2 separate regions of the Homo sapiens genome follow, and region 1 is linked to region 2. The links are contacts of gene promoters, found by promoter capture Hi-C in blood cells and fetal thymus (Javierre and others, 2016). All regions are on one chromosome and are shown on one strand. Each heading gives the region's core, a stretch centred on a gene start or on the middle of the fragment in contact. The rest is flanking DNA. Distances are from core to core; before and after follow the strand shown. Region 1 overlaps RHEX (regulator of hemoglobinization and erythroid cell expansion). Region 2 holds the start of SLC26A9 (solute carrier family 26 member 9).

The links. Contacts are between HindIII fragments. The CHiCAGO score rates a contact against its expected background, and 5 or more counts as called.
Region 1: a fragment that was not itself captured here is called in contact with the fragment with the promoter of SLC26A9 in region 2 in 3 of 17 cell types (M0 macrophages, naive CD8 T cells and M2 macrophages); the score reaches 6.8 in M0 macrophages.

The regions. Positions count from the first base shown.
Region 1 is chr1:206,092,224-206,095,951 of GRCh38, forward strand. All of the region lies in intron 1 of RHEX (regulator of hemoglobinization and erythroid cell expansion), which reads left to right. Among named protein-coding and RNA genes, the nearest start is that of AVPR1B, 23 kb to the right of the region's middle. The HindIII fragment of the contact is 3,685 bases long and covers 347-3,728 here.
Region 2 is chr1:205,941,896-205,945,299 of GRCh38, forward strand. It overlaps SLC26A9 (solute carrier family 26 member 9), which reads right to left and starts at 1,561. Exons shown (of 21, transcript NM_052934.4): 1 at 1,470-1,561. All of the region lies in intron 2 of SLC26A9-AS1 (SLC26A9 and RAB7B antisense RNA 1), which reads left to right. The HindIII fragment of the contact is 4,358 bases long and covers 629-3,404 here.

The sequences.
Region 1 (3,728 bases), core at 939-3,438, 150 kb after region 2:
AATGCTTTTAATTTCTAAATAATAATAGCTTGCATTCATTGGATGCTTAGTACTATGTGCCAAAAGTTCTAATAACTATTTCACATAGCTCATCTAATTTCATCCTCAGAAGTAGTTATCATTTATATTTGTCTTATCTAGTCCCGAAATTAGTTACTGTTCCCATCTTACATATTAAAAGACTGAGGCTTTGAGAGGTTAAATAGCCAGGCCAAGCTCATGCAGAGAATGAGCTGGGATTTGAACCCAAGCAGTCTGACTCCAGGTTCTTTGTCTTTAGTGGCTAGATACCATGCTCCTTCCTAAACTTATTTCTTGTTATTTTGGTTTGGTTTTGGTCTAAGCTTTCCGTGCCATATGGAATCAATTTTGTTAATTTATACTTTTCTAGGAAACTATCCATTTTACTGAGATTTCATCAAAAAAAATTTTGTAGTCTAACTTTTTTTAAAACCTCTTCTTTTTTTTGGTACCCCATTTTTGTTGAAAAATGTTAATCCCTTCTGTTTCTGAGATTAATAGTCCCTATATTATTAATTTGGTTTATTTGTGTTTCCTCCTTTTCTTGATTATTGGAAACTGCATATTAAACTGGGAGAGAAAGTCTAGCAATGTGGAGGAGGCTGAATGTTACAAAATGGAAATAAAGATTTTTTTATTTTTAAATTTTCCATTTCCATCCAGCTTTGCTTTCTTTTCGCCTTACTTCACCCCAGCCTTTAAAGAGCAGGATGCTCAGGGCTGAAAAGAGCCTTAGGAGTACTTTGCCAAGCTCCCTAATTCACCAGGGCCTAGAGGGGACATCTCCCTGTCCAAAGTCACACCGTTAGCAAGTGACAGAGCCAGGAGAAGGCAGGCCCTAGCTCCCTTCTTTCCCCTTCTTTTGTTCTCCCTTCTTTTTGTTCTCTTTCCATTATACCTTAGCTAATGTTAAAAACAACAAATTAATGGAGACAGCAAAGAAAGTTTACAGCTACTTCATTTGAAAAGATTAATAAAGTCAGTTGACAATGTTGATTATAATTACTTTGATCCATATGATTTTTCTTTTTTTTTTTTTCCTTTTCAGACAGAGTCTTGCTCTGTCACACAGGCTGGAGTACAGTGGCGTGATCTCAGCTCACTGCAACCTCCGCTTCCTGGGTTCAAGCAATTCTCTGCCTCAACCTCTCGAGTAGCTAGGATTACAGGTGCCTGCCACCATGCCCGGCTAATTTTTGTATTTTTAGTAGAGACGGGGTTTCACCATCTTGGCCAGGCTGGTCTTGAACTCCCGACCTCATGATCCACCCACCTCGGCCTCCCAAAGTGCTGGGATTACAGGTGTGGGCTACTGCGCCTAGCCTAATCCATATGATTTTTCATAGAAATCATCTTCTATTGTGATCTTGTTTTAAACCGTTCTTTCTAGAATAAACCTATCCAAAGAAAGCATGGTGTATGGCAGGAAAGTGGGCATCTTTTTATTCTCCCCCTGATATTACGCTGTACCTATTGGAAAGGCCATGAGAAAGCTCCTGTATCAGTGGAGGAGGGAAACTTAATAAAATGGAATCCAGCCTTAACTCAAGTCTGAAGCAAACAAAATAAATGCTCTTAGCACTGGGACGAAGTAGGGTTTTTTTTGGTCGGGGGAGGAGGGACAGGGTTTTACTCTGTCACCCAGGCTCTTCTCAAACTCCTGGTCTCAAGTGATTCTTCCACCTCGCTCTCCCAAAGTGCTGAGATTACAAGCATGAGCCACCGTGCCCAGCCTAAAGTTTGGTTTTGAGGTGCCTGGCAGGGCACTACATTAGTGTGGGGGCTGGATGTCAAAATTCAGCACAGTGGAAGAGGACAGAACCGTCCCTACCTCGAGGATGGAACGAGGCACACCAAACCCTCACACAGTCCATGCGCTTTTTCACAACATAATTACCTTAAATTGCCCATTTCCTGGTTATTTGGTGTGTGTGTGTGTGTGTGTGTGTGTGTGTCACGTGCACGCGCAAATGAGCAGATGTCTCTGCTGATTGTCTGATCAGCAGTCTGCAATTAGACCCCAAGGAACAACCTGCTCATTGTGGTTAGGGGCCATTAGCCACTTAAATAATGACATCTGTCATAATTTTCATACCTTGGATCTTATCTCCAAACTGTACTCAAAACAAATGCCTAAGTTTTCTAAAATAGACCAATCCAATTTTTAATAGTTCTAGTCACCATCGTGGTGGAGGATTTTAGGGTTGAATAATACCTAATAATTACTGAGTGCCTCGTATATGCCTGGAATTGTATAAAGGTCTTTACAAACAGCATAAATCACTGAGCTCATGCAAGAACTCTGTGAAGTAGGAAACTATTATTCTTCTCACTTTATAGATACTGAAATTATTAAACTGAGACACTGAATTCAATAATTAACATCTAGAAGGGAACTGAACTGAAATTAGTATTTAAGAATGTTGGACGTCCGTATTATTTACTGTTTTCATTTGGATGAGCTGCTGTGTGTCATTTGGCTAGTAAGGGAGACAGGGTCTTACTCTGTCACCGGGCTCTTCTCAAACTCCCGGCCTCGGTGATCCTTCCACCTCGCTATCCCAAAGTGTACGCTCTGAGTATATGCTCAGAATATATTAAAATGTGGAAGATGGTGTAGGCAATCTAGTTTTGTATAAAGGGCCAAAATAAGGCATTAATCTTAAAATAATGGAACATATATCAAATTCAGTGATTCTCAACTGAGAGCAAACCCTCCTACCTCAGGGGGCTTTGGAAATGTGTGGGGTCATTTGGGGTCCCTTTGGCCATTACACTGGCCTGTTACACTGGGGGGCTTTCAGGAGGCTCCACAACCTGCCGTCTGCAAGACAGTTTTAGACAATAAGGACTTGTCTGGCTCCAAATGTCAGATACTACCGAGAAACACTGATCAAGGGCAATGGTAGGAATTCGAAATGATACCGTAAAACTCAAAGGTGGCAAACTCAAATGCCTTTAGGGATTAGTCAGGAAGTGAACAAATCATGTCCCAGTTTAGGGGCATACAAATTCAAATCACTAAAGCACTTCATCAGACAAAAATTAGGTGTCAAATGTGGCCTGTGGATCGCCTGGTTGGAGCCTTTTAGGGGAGGTTTTTCCTGACCAAAAAAACATGTTTACGATATATTAAGAGTAAAAAAATAGCTAACAATCTGTATGATTCCATGTTTTAAAGACATTGTCTCTGTGTACACACATTATTTGCATATATACATGCACTTATATCCATGAAAATATTTAGAAAATTTTCTGGAAGGATATGGAATAAGATTTGGGGTAATTTTGGCTGGGCGCGGTGGCTCACGCCTGTAATCCCAGCACTTTGGGAGGCCAAGGCAGGCGGATCACCTGAGGTTGGGAGTTCGAGACCAGCCTGACCAACATGGAGAAACCCCGTCTCTACTGAAAATACAAAATTAGCAGGGCATGGTGGTGCATACCTGAAATCCCAGCTACTTGGGAGGCTCAGGCAGGAGAATCGCTTGAACCTGGGAGGTGGAGGTCGCAGTGAGCCGAGATCGTGTCATTGTACTCCAGCCTGGGCAACAAGGCAAAACTCCATCTCAAAAAAAAAGATTTGGGGTAATTTTTTTTTTTTGATACAGGATCTCACTCTGTCACCCAGACTGGAGTGCAGTGGCATGATCATGGCTCACTGCAGCCTCAACCTGGACTCGGGTGATCCTCCCACCTCAGCCTCC
Region 2 (3,404 bases), core at 311-2,810:
ACCAGTGAAGGGCCCAGCTGCTCTGGTCCCAGAAATCCAGGCGAAAGCCCAGAGAGGCATCCAGTGAAGATCAACTCCCCTTGAAGGGGTGGCTCTGCCCCTTCCATCTTCCAAGTAGTGACCCCACAGCCCCCAAAGCTTGGTCAGTGTTGAGCTGGTCCTCGATTCCCCCAGCAAGTTCACGGGGGTCAGTCTGGCTGTTTAGTACGGTTTAAGAGGCACTCTTGAATACTGGGTATATGCCAATCTCCGGAAGACTCTGGGCATTAAAAGATAAAGAGGAGTCCGTCTCTGCCCCAGGGTTTATACAAATGAGACTCAGAGAGCAGGTGGCTAGCTCTGGGAAGTGCCTGGGAAGGCCTTCCTGGCAGTGGAGGTGCTCTTGGCCATGCTGGTCTCCATGCTGCCCAAGCAGGGTCTTGCCAGGTTCTGGATGCCAGGGCCAGGATGAGGGAGGTGGGGGAGGACTGTGGGGTTCTGAGAAAGGGTCATCTGCATGAGTGAAGCCACTCAGGGGGAAAGCCCTCTCTCAGTCTGCCCACTTGGGGGGCTGCGTCACTCCAGGGTCTTCTGGTCCTCAGACCCGTGGGGCCAAGTGTAAGGGGGCAGTTGATGCTGGAATAATAGAAGCTTTGTTAGGTCTCAGCTGGGGACCCTCTGGGCTGGTTTTGAGGAATGGGGGCACTGCCTGAGAGTGGCTTGGAACCCCTTGGAGCTGCAGGATGAGGGGTTTGGAGGCTGAGAGCCTGGAGAGCTGGCTGCCCATCCACTGTCCTGGCCCAAGCCCTTCTGTGTTGAAGCATTCACCATTGAGTCGGGCGTCCCAGGTCCAGCTACCGCCCACCCGCCTGCCTGATGGAGCTGGTCCCTTGCTCACCCTCTCCCACTCCTCAGTTTCCTCCCCCTCCACCTCTTCCAACTTCTCAGGACTAATGGGGACACATGGGATTCTGTGTAGTCCATGCTAAGTTCCCCGAGCTGGTGGAGAAGTACATGAGTGAAGGAGGATGTCTGGGCGGTAGAAGGAGGGGGAGACAGCCATGCAGAGTAGGCTGGTGAGTCAAGCATTAAGAGCTTTTCCCTCCAAGACTTGAAAAGAAAGGGAGAGGAGCAGCCCACAGCTTCAAAGGCTGTCGCGGAGGAAGGTCTAACATTTTCCTTTCCCTCGGAGGCCTTTGCCTCGCTCTGTTTCGGGGTCTGGCGACCACCACACCCTCACCCTACTTGCTCCCTCAGTCAAGCCCAGCCTTGCAGCCCAGGTCCTTACATAGACGTGAAGACCCAAAGGGCTCCTCAGAGGGGAAGGGCTGGGAGGCTGCTCTCAGACTCCAGGGGCCAGAGTGTCCTTCCTACTTGTGCTCAGCTTGGCAGTTGGTTCCTGTCATCCCTCCTCTCGGTACCCCTGGTGACTGCCCTCTTGCAGGGATGACCCCAGCCCAGTGGGGTGGGCTGGGCTGGGTGGGGCTTACCAGTGGGTGAGCAAAGCCGGCTGGGCAGGGCTGCAGGTGTGTCTGGGGAGCGGGCAGCCGAAAGGTGTTCCTGAGGTGTGTGAAAGGGCTCTGCTCAAATAATCCAGGGAGGCGTTTATAAATAACTTTTCCTCAGGGCCACGGGGTGAGCCCCGGCTTCTGATTGGCTCAGAGGGGAAGTGGTTTTGAACACTACACCATAGCTAAGCCTGAGGAGATAGGAAAAGGAGATAAGGGGGAAAAGGTCCCAAATGAACAGCCCTTTTTTTGTTTTACCTGGGGAGCAGGGCTGTGTGATGGGAGCTTGGCACTTCCTAAATCCACCCCGAAGACAATAGGTCACATTCAGCGGGGCTCCTGCCCCACCGGCTCCCCCAAGGCGGCCCTGGAGGAGGGGGACGAGGCAGAGGAGGGGGACAAGGCAGGACAAGCTCCTCTGAGCTTGCTGTCCTGCTGCTTATGGGGCTGGGGGTCAGGCCAAAGAGCCTCTTGGACAATGGGAGCTATTGAGGCCACCTGAGGGGTGTGCTCTTGGGGATGCTTGCTTTGAAGATTGGAGATCTAGGGGGTGGGAAGACAGTAGTCCTCTGAACACCCCTGAGGAAGGGGAAGAACCATGTCTGGGAGGCCCTGGGAGCCTTTAGGCGGTTTTGGTTTGTGGTGGAGACCTGGTTCCCAGTTCTGTCCCCAATGTTAAGTTGCTTGTGAGCTCTGTGCCTTGGTCTATCCATCAGTGCAATGGGGGAAATTATTCCTGGCCCCTCAGGTAGTGTGCAAAGAGAACACAGGGGTTTAGAATCTGATAAAAGAGCTCAAGAAACTGGACTTAGAACAATTATATGAGAGGCGACCTGAAGGCTAGCAAATCTCCAGTCACAGCCCTCTGCCGCTTCTAGGAATTAATGTCTCCCTGGGTCATGGCACTGCTCCGGCTGCTGCCAGCAGAGCTGCCCATCCCAGGCCCATTGAGTGCTACGGAAGGACCTCAGAAAGCAATTGTGGACAGGGGCTGGGAGGGTGGGTAGGGGAGTTTCTTAATTTACTTCCTGGGAGGGAGAGTCACTACCCGACACCAGGTGCCCATTCTTTGAGACATCAAGTGCTGCACTGTCCTCGTCCTCAACTGTCCTCCCATCTCTCCAAAAGAAACCAGAGGCTCTGAAGTGGGCTGGAATCAGTGCAGGGGGCTTCAGTAAGGCACCTCTGGAAGTTGGGGCGAAAGTTCCCCATGGTGAAATGAGCTAGCTTCAGTACTTAATAGGGACTCAATAAATATTTGTTAAATGAATGAAAGAGTGAATTGTCTGCAAGCCCAACCCAAGGGATAGTTTGTAGATGCATTGCTTGTGGGGACTAGGGAAACACCCGAGGTCACTCAGAGTTGTCAGGGTGTAGCCAGACAACTGGCTGAAGAGAGCCAGAATTCAAGTGACCCAAGTGTGCCCTGACACCTGGCTGAGGGAAGGATGTGTGCATGGACACTGCCTCGGGGAGCCCTTCCCCAGACCCCTATGTGGACTTAGCTGACATGTTGCACATTCGTTCCTCTGGCTTCCTCTGCTTCACTCTCATAACACTGACCACAATTAATGGTAATTATGTATGGAATTGTCAGTCTTTCTGCAAACACCGTGAACTCCCTGAGGAGGGCAAGGGGGCAGTGCCTCTTTTGTATCCCTACCCACCTAGCCCAGTGCCCGGCACTTAGGAGGAGCTCAATATAGATTTGAGGAATGAATGAACAATTGTATGATAGAGTCTTTAAACAAAGCAAAGCCAGAGGGCGAGAATTTGTCCATGCATCTTCAGTATTGTCCAGTGTCATGGGTAGCCTGACCTGTTCTAAACTTTGCCCAGGAAATTCCTAGAAAGCAGATGAGTCATTATGTTCTTCCGATAGCCAGGTGACAGTGGCTATCAAGATCAAACAACTAA